Linked DNA regions of Homo sapiens: region 2 is linked to region 1. Evidence: promoter capture Hi-C in 16 types of primary human blood cells and fetal thymus (Javierre and others, 2016). All regions are on one chromosome and are shown on one strand. The core of a region is centred on a gene start or on the middle of the fragment in contact, and the rest is flanking DNA. Distances in the headings are between cores, read along the strand shown. Region 1 holds the start of MMRN2 (multimerin 2). Region 2 holds the start of MINPP1 (multiple inositol-polyphosphate phosphatase 1).

The links. The method cuts DNA at HindIII sites, captures the fragments that hold promoters and counts their contacts. A CHiCAGO score of 5 or more calls a contact.
Region 2: a fragment that was not itself captured here is called in contact with the fragment with the promoter of MMRN2 in region 1 in 1 of 17 cell types (activated CD4 T cells); the score reaches 6.1 in activated CD4 T cells.

What each region holds. Positions count from the first base shown.
Region 1 is chr10:86,955,771-86,961,039 of GRCh38, reverse strand. It overlaps MMRN2 (multimerin 2), which reads left to right and starts at 3,425. Exons shown (of 7, transcript NM_024756.3): 1 at 3,425-3,662. The coding sequence starts at 3,499. It overlaps SNCG (synuclein gamma), which reads right to left and starts at 2,441. Exons shown (of 5, transcript NM_003087.3): 1 at 2,222-2,441; 2 at 1,366-1,407; 3 at 912-1,039. The coding sequence starts at 2,342. RefSeq lists enhancers at 1-351, 1,552-2,151, 5,154-5,269. The HindIII fragment of the contact is 12,184 bases long and covers 1-5,269 here.
Region 2 is chr10:87,501,797-87,507,085 of GRCh38, reverse strand. MINPP1 (multiple inositol-polyphosphate phosphatase 1) reads right to left here and starts at 2,193. Exons shown (of 5, transcript NM_004897.5): 1 at 1,534-2,193. The coding sequence starts at 2,170. It overlaps MIR4678 (microRNA 4678), which reads right to left and starts at 3,205; the gene lies at 3,132-3,205. It overlaps LOC112268064 (a long non-coding RNA gene), which reads left to right and starts at 2,252. Exons shown (of 2, transcript XR_002957094.2): 1 at 2,252-2,751. RefSeq lists enhancers at 1,914-1,973, 2,134-2,223. The HindIII fragment of the contact is 1,695 bases long and covers 2,404-4,098 here.

The DNA of each region.
Region 1 (5,269 bases), core at 2,176-4,675:
CCCAGGTAGGAATCCTAGCCCAGGCCACCACTTACACTGCCACAGGGTCTCTCAGAGTACAGGCTGCTCAGGGGAATTCCAAGCTCACATGAACTAGCCATGGGACCTTGGGCACATTAATCTCTCTGGGCCTTAGTTTCCACACCGTCTCATGGATTTTGTGTCTATTAAATGAACTAATAAGCGTACAATGCGTAAAGCAGAGCTTGCTGTGTCACAGGTGCTGGGACAGCTCACCCAGCCAACACCCGTCCCTGGGGTGCGCCCCACTGCTCCTGTGCTGTCTGCTATTGGGCCGCACACGCATGTGTACATTCACACGCATGTACACCCACACATTCTCACAAATGCACCCACATGCTCACTCAACACACGTGCACACACACACAAAGGCAGCTGCAGAGGGTAGGGTCAGAAGCAGCACTGCTTTCTTACCACTAGGGGACGCTACTTCCCTGAGGCTCCCAGCAGGAGGCAGCTGCCCCGCCCAGCCCAGGGAGGGAGGCTAGGCCCTGGGGGCGGGGCTGGTGCTACTCAGCCCCCGGCCTGGTGACCACTGCCCGGGAGGCTGCCTGTCACCGTGTGGGATCCTGTTTTCACTTATAAAATGGGGTGTCTCCTAAGTGCTGAGAGCCGTCCGGAAGATGTGGTTTTGAGCCTCACTTTCCTTGTCTATGAGATGGGCTCCCAAGTCCCCCGAAGGGGTGGTTGTGGTGATTCCAGACCCGAATGCAGGTCGAACAGCAAGCATGGACCCCACCCCATGCCGGCGCTCAGTGGGTACTGAAACTGAAGCCAGCCGCAGCCCCCCGTGTTGTTTCCTGGGGTGTGGAGTGGAGTGATGCCGCCTCCGCCCAGCAGCCTTTCTGGGCCCAGGAGAGGACTGGGCAGGTCTGAGGGCCGGGGCTCACCTTGCGCACCACCCCGGAGGTGACCGCGATGTTCTCCGCCTCCTCCACGGTCTTGGTGGCCACAGTGTTGACGCTGCTCACCACAGCCTCGCTCACGGCGTTGGCCTGCTCCTTGGTCTTCTCGGCCACTATGGGAGGACACTGGCTGGCCTCCACCCCAGCCCCAGCCCCAAGGCAGGCCTGCTGGAGTCAGGCTCGCAGCCCCTTCCCAGGAGCTCAGAGCCCTGGCCCTGCTGGGACCCTCCCCTGCTCCCTCTGACTCCAGGGCACCTCTGATGCTGGTGGGGGTAAGGAGACGCCCACCCTAGTTTAGCCTCATGGTCTGCAGGGGTCTGTAGGGCTTGGGACCCCAGTTGGGGGTAAGGCAGGACTCTAGGTTTGAGCCCCAGCACTAGGATGCAGGAGCCCCAGGGGTCCTATCCCCCATGTGTCCCCTGGCCCTGGGGCTTCTCACCTGAGGTCACGCTCTGTACAACATTCTCCTTGGTCTTGGCTCCTGGGGAGGAAATGGAGCTGTCAGCCCAGACCTCCCTCGAGGTGTTGGGGGCGGTCAGGACAAACACAACAGAACAGCTGGACAAACTGTGGGGTCGGTGGGGGGGTAAGGATGGTGTCTGGGGGCCGGCGGCCCCTTCAGAGGGCCTCTTCCTGCTGTGTCTGGAAGAAGTGGATGGATGGGAAGGGGACAGGACAGAATGTGGGGGACAAGAGAGAGCAGGCCTGAGGTAGGGACACTGGCTAGACCCAGGGTCCAGCCCCTGCCCGGGTGTGGCCGGGCCTCAGAAGCAGCAACAGGACAGGATGGGCCAGAGCTGAGTCATTGGCTTGACCTCCCCTTCCTCCTCTGGAGAGTGCCAGGAGAGGATGCGGGGGAGGGAACACTGAGCCTAGGTTTCATCCCCCAGCCTGCCCCTTCTCTCTGGGGAGGGAGGGGATCCGTGACCTGGCTGTAGCCGCTCCCGTGTGGAGAGGGTGGGGGCCACCTGAGCACAGGCTGCTCATGGCTTCAGGGGCTCCAGGCTCAGGGGAGGCTGGTATGCTTGGGAATGTGTGTGTGCGTGCACAGACAGGTAGCCAGCCCTGTCTGCGGTCTCTGACACCCAGAGGCCCCGAGGAGGCCAAAGACAAACACACATAGGTGTGCACAGGGCATTGTGGGTGCTCCAGGGTCTGGAGACCCCACCTTGATAGCCAGGGCCTCGCCCCCTCCCAAAATGCCTCCCTGGGGCTGGGGAGTAAGGTCTGGCGAAGGTAACTGGGCACTCACCCTTTGGCCACCACACTGTCCCACCCTGCCATGCCCCACTTACCCACATACATGACCCCCTCCTTGGTCTTCTCAGCTGCTTCCGTCACCCCCTGCTTGGTCTTTTCCACCGCACCCACCACGCCCTCCTTGGCGATGGAGAAGCCCTTCTTGAAGACATCCATGGTGGGTGTGCAGGGTTGTGCTGCTGCAGGCAGGACGGAGCTGGATCTCCCTGCGAGCTGCGGGCTTGAGCTGGCTCGAGTGCTGCCGCAGCGGCTGTCCCCGATGCCTCCTATTGACGCCGATGAAATATTGATGCGGAGGCCAGCTGGAGCCCAGCCAGCCCTGCGTGCAGTGGGGGCGGGGAGGGAGGGAGGGAGGGAAGGAGGTTCAGCCTCACCTTCCTCCAGGATAGGAAGGCAGAGACCAGGCTCCCTGGGCTCCTGCTGGCTCAGCCCAGCTCTCCTGCCCCGTGCCCTCCATGGGCTGGAGGGGGCTGGCCACCTCCCAACCTGTCCCTCATTCATTTACTGCCCTGCCCACCCATGGGGGCAGCCCTGGCTGGGTGCTCTTGGCCCCAGGGGTGCTGTGTCTATGCTGCACCTGGACAGACAGGCACAGAGAGGGGAGGCGCCTTGGCCATTGTCCCCAGCTTCCTAGGTAGGGGTCAGGGCCACATAGGCCTGTTAGGTGAGAGCAGCCAACCTCCCGCGGCCTGGGCTGTGCAGCTACCCACCAGCATCCTGGATGCCGCTGGACCCTGGGCTGCCATGAAACCGGTTGGAGGATCTGAGGTGGGTGGGGGTGGGGAAATGAAGGACTTCCTCATGCCTTGGCCTCTGGCTGCATGCTGTGTGACCCCAGAATAGTCCCTTCCCTTCTTTGAGCCGCCCAGTGCTGAAGGTGCTGAGGAGGCATGAATTGCCCCCCATTTCCTGGCCAGCAGTGTGGATGGGCAGCAGGTCCCCTGAGATGGACCTGACCACTTCCTGTGGCCCCACCTCGAAGTCCACGCTCTTTTCATGGCTCCCAGGGAGCAGGTTCCCATAAGGATGCATTTGGTGGGGCCACCCCATGTCTACCACATTCCCAGAGTCCCTGAGCCAAGTCCTCAGGGACAGGAACTGGCTTGTGTGGTTGGCGGCCCCTGTGGGGCCAGCCAGGGTAGTTGGGGGGCAGGACAAGACCCACCGGGTAGGCCGGCCCAGGCCACTTCCTCTCTTTGTTGTCCTCGTATTTTCTTTTCCTCCTGAGATTTAACTTGAAGACAACGTCACTAGCAGTTTCTGGAGCTACTTGCCAAGGCTGAGTGTGAGCTGAGCCTGCCCCACCACCAAGATGATCCTGAGCTTGCTGTTCAGCCTTGGGGGCCCCCTGGGCTGGGGGCTGCTGGGGGCATGGGCCCAGGCTTCCAGTACTAGCCTCTCTGATCTGCAGAGCTCCAGGACACCTGGGGTCTGGAAGGCAGAGGCTGAGGACACCGGCAAGGACCCCGTAGGACGGTAAGAGGGCCTGGACCTTGGCAGAGGTCATGGAGTAGGATCTGAGTCCCAGCTCAGCTAGAGCAGAGCCTCTCTAGACCTCACTGGGGTCCCATCTGTGAAATGGGCTAATAGTATCTATCTCTGGGCCATCTGTGAGGCTGAAAAAGTAGTCTGGACTGGGTGTTTCAGGATCCACCTAAGAATTGCAGGGAGTTCCCTGTCGGAGCCATGGCAGGGAATGGGGCTTGGGGGGCTGGCAGGGAGGCACAGCTCCTACCATCAATCACCCAGCATGGGGCACTGGGGGACTGTGGCTGAAGCCATTGCCAGCTGGCCTGGCTATGCCTCCTGTTCTTCCAAAGAAATCAATTCTGAAAGCTGAGACCCAGCAAGGCTGCCCTGAGATTTTGATCTGAGTTCCCTGGGGACCTGACTCTGACTGCCCAGCAGTGAGCAGAGACGGCCCCCTGCTCTCCAGAGCACAGTCCAGGGCGCTCTGCCTCAGCGACCCAGCAAGTGGGCAGGATGGTCTTGCAACTGGACCCAGAACATAGCTTTCCAACATTCTATGTGTACAGAGCCAGGGCCCATCCTGCTGATGAGGTGTTGGGCCTGTAAGTCCCCCCTCATCTCCAACTGCCCCTCAGTCAGAGCAGCAGGTGCTGTTTACGGGGCCCCCAGTCTCAGGGCCAGGCACCTTGCCACGTGTATCTCAGTTCATCCCTCCAACAGCCCCACTTACAGAGGAGGAGCCTGAGGCTCAGAGAGGCTGAGGGGCTTGCCCAAGGCCACACAGCTAAGGAGCAGGATCTGAGTTTGACTTCAGAGCTCATAGTGAACTCTCTGCAGCACTTGGAGCCAGCCCCAGCCCCCAGATGCTCCTACCTCCACCCTCCTGCCCCCACACACCAGACCTGTTTGGCTAAGGGCATCTACATGGATTTAGGGAGTGAGGGGGGGGCCAACTTACACTTCTGTGCGGTGTATGAGAGCCACCATCGCAGAGCGGACCTGCCTGGGATAGGTCTCATTTGGCTTCTGAGTTGCAGGTTTGTTGGGTGCTTTCCTGAAAACAGATTTGACCAGGGAGGGGCAAGAGGCCCCTTAGTGAGGGTCTGGTGGCAGTGGCGTGGGGAACAGTGGCTGAGCAGTTGGCCATGGAGAAACCTCATTCCCGCCTGCCCCCAACTCTGCTCAGGGCTGGGAGGTGCAGGTGATTCTCGGTGGTGGGGCGGCAAGGGGAGCAGGGGGCGGGGGAGGGGCGGGCTGGATCCAGCCACTCCGCTCTGATTTCAGGACCAAGGAAGCTCCACGCCTTAGTCTCAGGCCACCTTCCGCCTTTTGATGAAAGGGAGGATGAGAGGACCCGGTGGACGGGAGGGAGGAGGGAGCTGCTCCTCTTCCTCCCCACCCCCTTGGTTGTGGGAGAGACATTGCTCCCTTAGCCCCAAGGAGTGAGGGTTTGGGAACTGCTGATGGGCAGCCCTGCAGGGGCCCCGCAGTCCTTCTCTGGGGTTCTGAGTGGGAGGGTGCATGTACCTGGCCCAGGAATGCCCAGGTGTCCCAAGCCTGGAAGCCCCCTGCCTGCAGGGCTCTCCTTCCCACATCCAGAAGCTGCAGTCTCC
Region 2 (5,289 bases), core at 2,002-4,501, 550 kb before region 1:
AAATGCCAGTCTTCGCAATGCCATCTGAGAACAAAAATTCACTTGTTCCAGGAAGTCGCTATAGATATTGTGTTATATTAAAATATGTTCTGCTTTCACCATTCTGTTAATTTAACAGATTTATGAGGAATTTTCACTCATGCTAATGGAAAAAGTATATATTTAAAAAAAAACACAGTTCAACAAGTAATTAGACACAAGTCAGCTAACTGAATTACCCACAATAACATGACACAGAATCAGTGGAGAAATCCCTTACAGATGGTTTCACTGTTCAACAGCTACAGAAGAAATTACAAACCAGCCTACTTCTAATTTTTCACTTGGGCTTTGAAGCTAAACAATAATCCTCACTTCAATTCTGGCCTTAAAAGTGATCAAGAAACTATTAATGCTTGCTCATCTCTGTGGTACAAAAATGTTACATGTTTTTATTCTTATTAGGTATGTTATTGGACAAATGGAGGCAGTATAGCATAATGGCTAAGAAAGCAAGCTCTGAATCAGATTTCCTGGGTCCACAGCTAGCTGTATGAAAATGGGCAAATTATTTAATGTGTTCGTGTATCAATTTCCTCATCTTTGAGATAAGGGGAAAATACTATCAACTCCAGATTGTGGTTGTAAGGATTTTGTAAAATAAATGTGAGGCATACCTGGCATACAATAGGCATGAGGTGTATGCTATCATTATTATTTGTAACTATTACAACATTTTCTAAGAGAAAAAGAACCATTCTAGGAAAACAGAAGACTTGGATACTAGACCTTAGAGAAAGACAATTAAGAAGGCATACTCTTGGGCTCGGGTTCTTCACCTGTGAAATAACGGGGCCTTACTAGATGATTTCTCAAATTTCGAAAAAGTGTAATTAATGGAATAAATGAGTTGTTACTGCTTGTGACCACGGACCACAGCTACAACGATGGGAACGCTACAGTAAAAACATGAACAAAACAGAAGAAAAAAGGAGGACACAAAGGCTTGAGATCAGGTTCCTAAAACAGGGTGTAGGTCTAAAACTGTCATCTGAAAAAGATGATGAGTTTAAAAAAAAAAAAAAAGAAAGAAGGAAAAACTAGTATCGGAAGCAAAGCCCGAGGAAGAAAATTCTAGATTCTGTTTTTTAAAACGTGCGCCCAATTGTGAAACTAGACGCCAGGGAAGGGGGAAGGGATGGGTTGGCGCTCGAAGGGGCAATTCAGTTTGGGAACGGGAGCGCAAAAATTGCGGGAGACCTCGTCTGTCCCCTTTCCTGTTGGATCCCCAACTCTACTAAAGCAGGCAGCGAGTACAAGGTGCTGAATTTACACCTGATGAATTAATAAATGAACATACGTGTAAGGGGAAAAAGAGATAGCCAAGTCTGTAATATCCCTCGACAGGGAGGACGTAGCCCGAGGGATGATGGCTTGGGAAAAGAGGAAAGAGAACTGGGGGGCATCGGAAAAGCCCAGGGTCTGGGGGAGGCGGGAGAGCATCCAGGGCGGGTGGGAGGACCGGGACAGCACACGGGCCGCCCGGGGGGTCACCTGCGACGTCCGGCGGCGGCAAGCCAGGGTGGTAGTGCTGCCACAGCCCCTGCAGGAAGGCGGCGCTGCTATCCATGCAGCGGTGCTTGGAACTGGTGATGAGCCGCAGGCGGCCGTAGTTCTCACGGCTGAAAAGGGCCGGGAAGAGCGAGGCCAGACGCAGCGCCAGCTGTCGCATATCCTGCCGTCCCTTCTCTACTAGCTGCCCGTCCATCCAGTCCGCGTACCACAAAGGCCAGTCGGCCAGCGCTGCACCCAGGTCGCGGCTGCCGGTACTACTAGCCCCGCCATCCCTGGACCCGCGGGCCTGCAGCAACCCGTGCAGCTGCCTCAGCTTGCGGATCTGTTTGACCGTGGGGTAGCGGGTGCCGTGGCGAATGAGGGCGACCAGCTGCACCGGGGTGCAGGTCCCCTCCAGCAGCTCAGGGTCCCGCCACGGAGCCTCGGGGCCCGACAATAGCACGGGGTTGACATCCTCGTAGCGAGTCTTGGTGCCGAAATAGGGGCTGAGCGACGAGGCCACCGGGTCCCTCGGCTCTAGAAGAGAGCAGCGCGCAAGCGACGAGAGCAGCGCCGCAGCCAGGGCCGCGGCAGGCGCTACGGAGGTCCGGAGGAGGCAGCCGGGCGCGCGTAGCATCGTCGGGACGGTCAGTGGAGTGCGCCGAGCCAGCTGCAGATGCCCAGCTTCCGGCTCCGGAGGGCAGGGGGCGGGTCTGGAGGGCGCTTCCGGCCGGCGGCCCTCGGGATGCGCTTCGCTGTTCTCTAGGAGGTACCAACCTCTGGCGGTGGGTCTTGCGTCCCGGCGGAAAGCTCCGAGGAGTCCTGTAGACTTGTGGCTCGGGTGGAGCCGGCGGAAAACCCCGAGAAGCTTGAGACAGCCGTGGCTGAGGTGGAGCCGGCGTCGCTGCCCTGGAGCGTGGGCGAGTTTCCTCTTAGCCGGAGCTTCAGGGATTGACTCAAAGACTCCTCCGCTTTTTTAGTTGTTTTGGGTGTGAATACAGCCCGGACTAAACCTTAGTCGCCTAGACTAAACCTTAGCCTCCCAGGCTGCCAAAACAGCACAGCTTTTACAGATGACTCTTACATCACCATCCCTACTCTGTGATACTGTGTTTTTCAAAGTTTAGTGCCTGAACCATCAGCATGAAATCTGCCTGAGACGGTTGTTGAAAATTCACATCGCTGGGCCTTGCGGCAGGATGCCTCTTGAAGCCCAAGGTTTTTGTTTCGTTTTTTTCCATTTGAGTTTGAAAATAAACAGGATACAGTAAAGCAGAGAACTTGGAAAGGGGCTTACATTCTGCAGGAATTTAAGTCCTGAATCTTTGGTATAATCTTGACCTGGACTACCAGAGCTAACGCCGACATCAGTGAGACAGCACCCTAAAAGTTCTGTGCTTGTTGTTCCCGAAGGCTTAGCGAGTAGAGACATAGCAATCTAGAGAATTTGGGTGCATTGAGTCATGGCCCAACAGATTTACTCTATTATTAAGTATGAGCTAATCTGCTTTGCGAAGCAAACATGCTCTGTATTTACCACCACTCCAGATCCATACGTTCCTCCCATGTACTTACTTACATACTCAAATCAAAAGCTGGGTTTTTTAATAGGTTATTGCTCAGAATCTTTGACCCCAAAAATCATAAGTCTGAACAATACCTTGTTTTTTCCCACTTGAACTCCAGTTTATTTGCCAGCTGGGGAAATAATAAGTATTACAGAAGTCGTACGGTGATCCAGATTTAAGGAAATTGGGACCACGTTTTCATTAAGTTAGCTTTTGCTTCAAAGACACTATTACATTGCTCTTTATAAGCCCATCACCATCTTTACTCCTTTTCTCTTTAAGTGTCTCCTTGGTTTAGAGAGGTGTTCCTCTAAGTTTAGGCGTGCCTCTAAATGTTAACCAAGAAGAAACGGGGCCAGCCTATGAATGCTGAAAATTTGGAGACGTTCTGTGCAGGAAACCATCTTTAGGGCAACAGATGTTCTTTTCGATATGCTATTTTGTAGCATGTCAATGCCTGAATATTCATGGTCAGTGATATTTTTGTAGAACTTTGCTCAAATTAGCATTTAGTAAATATCCGCTCCTTCTTAAAATAGACATTCTAACCCGTATGCTCTATAGGCTGAGTCGCCTGATAATATTTCTAAGTGCATTCAGCGAGCATTTGTTCCAGGTTCATCTCACTGTATTTTGCCTAATACATATGCTTACTAATAACTTCTCACACCCAATCTTTTGAGTCCTAGGGGTTACCAAGTGTTCCCAAAGTCATTATTCACTTCTTCCTTATGAAGCAATCTTTAGAGACTCCACTTACAAAATGTATGGCACAGTACACATTTTTATACATGAAATTTGCCCCTAGTTTGATTTTATTTTCCTTATCTAATTCCTCATCAATTAATTTTATCCTGTTTTATACACTTAGGTATATCAGCTCCTAATTATTTTGATGTTATGCCAAGATAACAATGATAAAGTAAAAGTAAGCAATGCCTCCATGTTTTTGGCTAGGAAAAAGCCAAATATAAAGAAGACGAAGAGTGCTTAAGCTTTGGACCCAGACTCTAATTAGCTCTGCTGCTTATTAATTGAGTGACCCAAGTTCTCTGGGCCTTAGTTTTTTTTTTTTATCTGAAAATTGGTAATATTAGAACCTATATCATGGGATTATCATGACAGAGATGATGTATTTAAAATCCATATGATAGGCCGCTATAAATGATATTTTTATCATTACTAATGTTCAGTGTGATTATTCCTGTGCTAAGATGCCTAGCTTTCTAGCAATTACATGGATTACACTTACTCCCACTGAACATTAAAGTGAATGACTTTCACAGGCAACACATGCATCAAAGATCATTTCATAACTTTTCTAATAATAAAAATCCACTCATTTCACTTAAAATGGATATCTTGTTCTTAGAGCACTAAGCAGCCTTTGAAAAAATTTAAAAAGGTCACAGGCCGTGCTCCTCATTTCATGCCAGACCATGTCTGAATTATCTGGGCACTCTGTAAATTGGATGCCCTTTGACATAGGTGCCCACTTGGTCCAATCATGTAGTACAGAGAAGTTTGCATAGTGCGAAACATGGCTATTCCTTTGCAGAGATCATGGGAACATCACCTCCCCTCATAAGAAATTGTGGGTATGGGAGCAATATATTTGGCAAATCTAACACAATACAAGAGGCAGAAAGGAAAATTAATGGTTCAAGGTCCTTGCAGAGATGGGAGAGGACAGAACCAAAAACACAGGTAGAGAATTTGATTTGGGCCAGAAGGAGATGAGACCTTATCTTCTAAGAGAATGTTAGAAGGATGGGTGAACATGGGGATAAATTTGTAGATCTGGCAGGAGAGAGTTCATAGAATTCAAGTCTGATGGCCTCAGTTTCCACAGTAACATAGGAGACAAGTTTGAAAGATGGGGGAATAGGAATTAAGTCTTGAAATGTGAAAATGGTTTGGATTTGCAACTGAGAGAAATGGGAAAGTAATGGGAAAGGATTGACAACTAAGAGGAATGGGAGAAACAAGTAGAAGTTTGTATGGTCAGCTCTGGAGATCCAACTGAGAATGAATTGCTAGTGGTTCTGCAATTTTATTTAGAAGCAAACATTATCTGTTGTATTTTTTCAGAGTGGAAAAGAAAAAAAGTTTAACTTGATGGTCCTACATTAATGGGTCTTGAGTAGAACTTCATTTCTAATCAATCCACTATACGAAAGGATAAGCT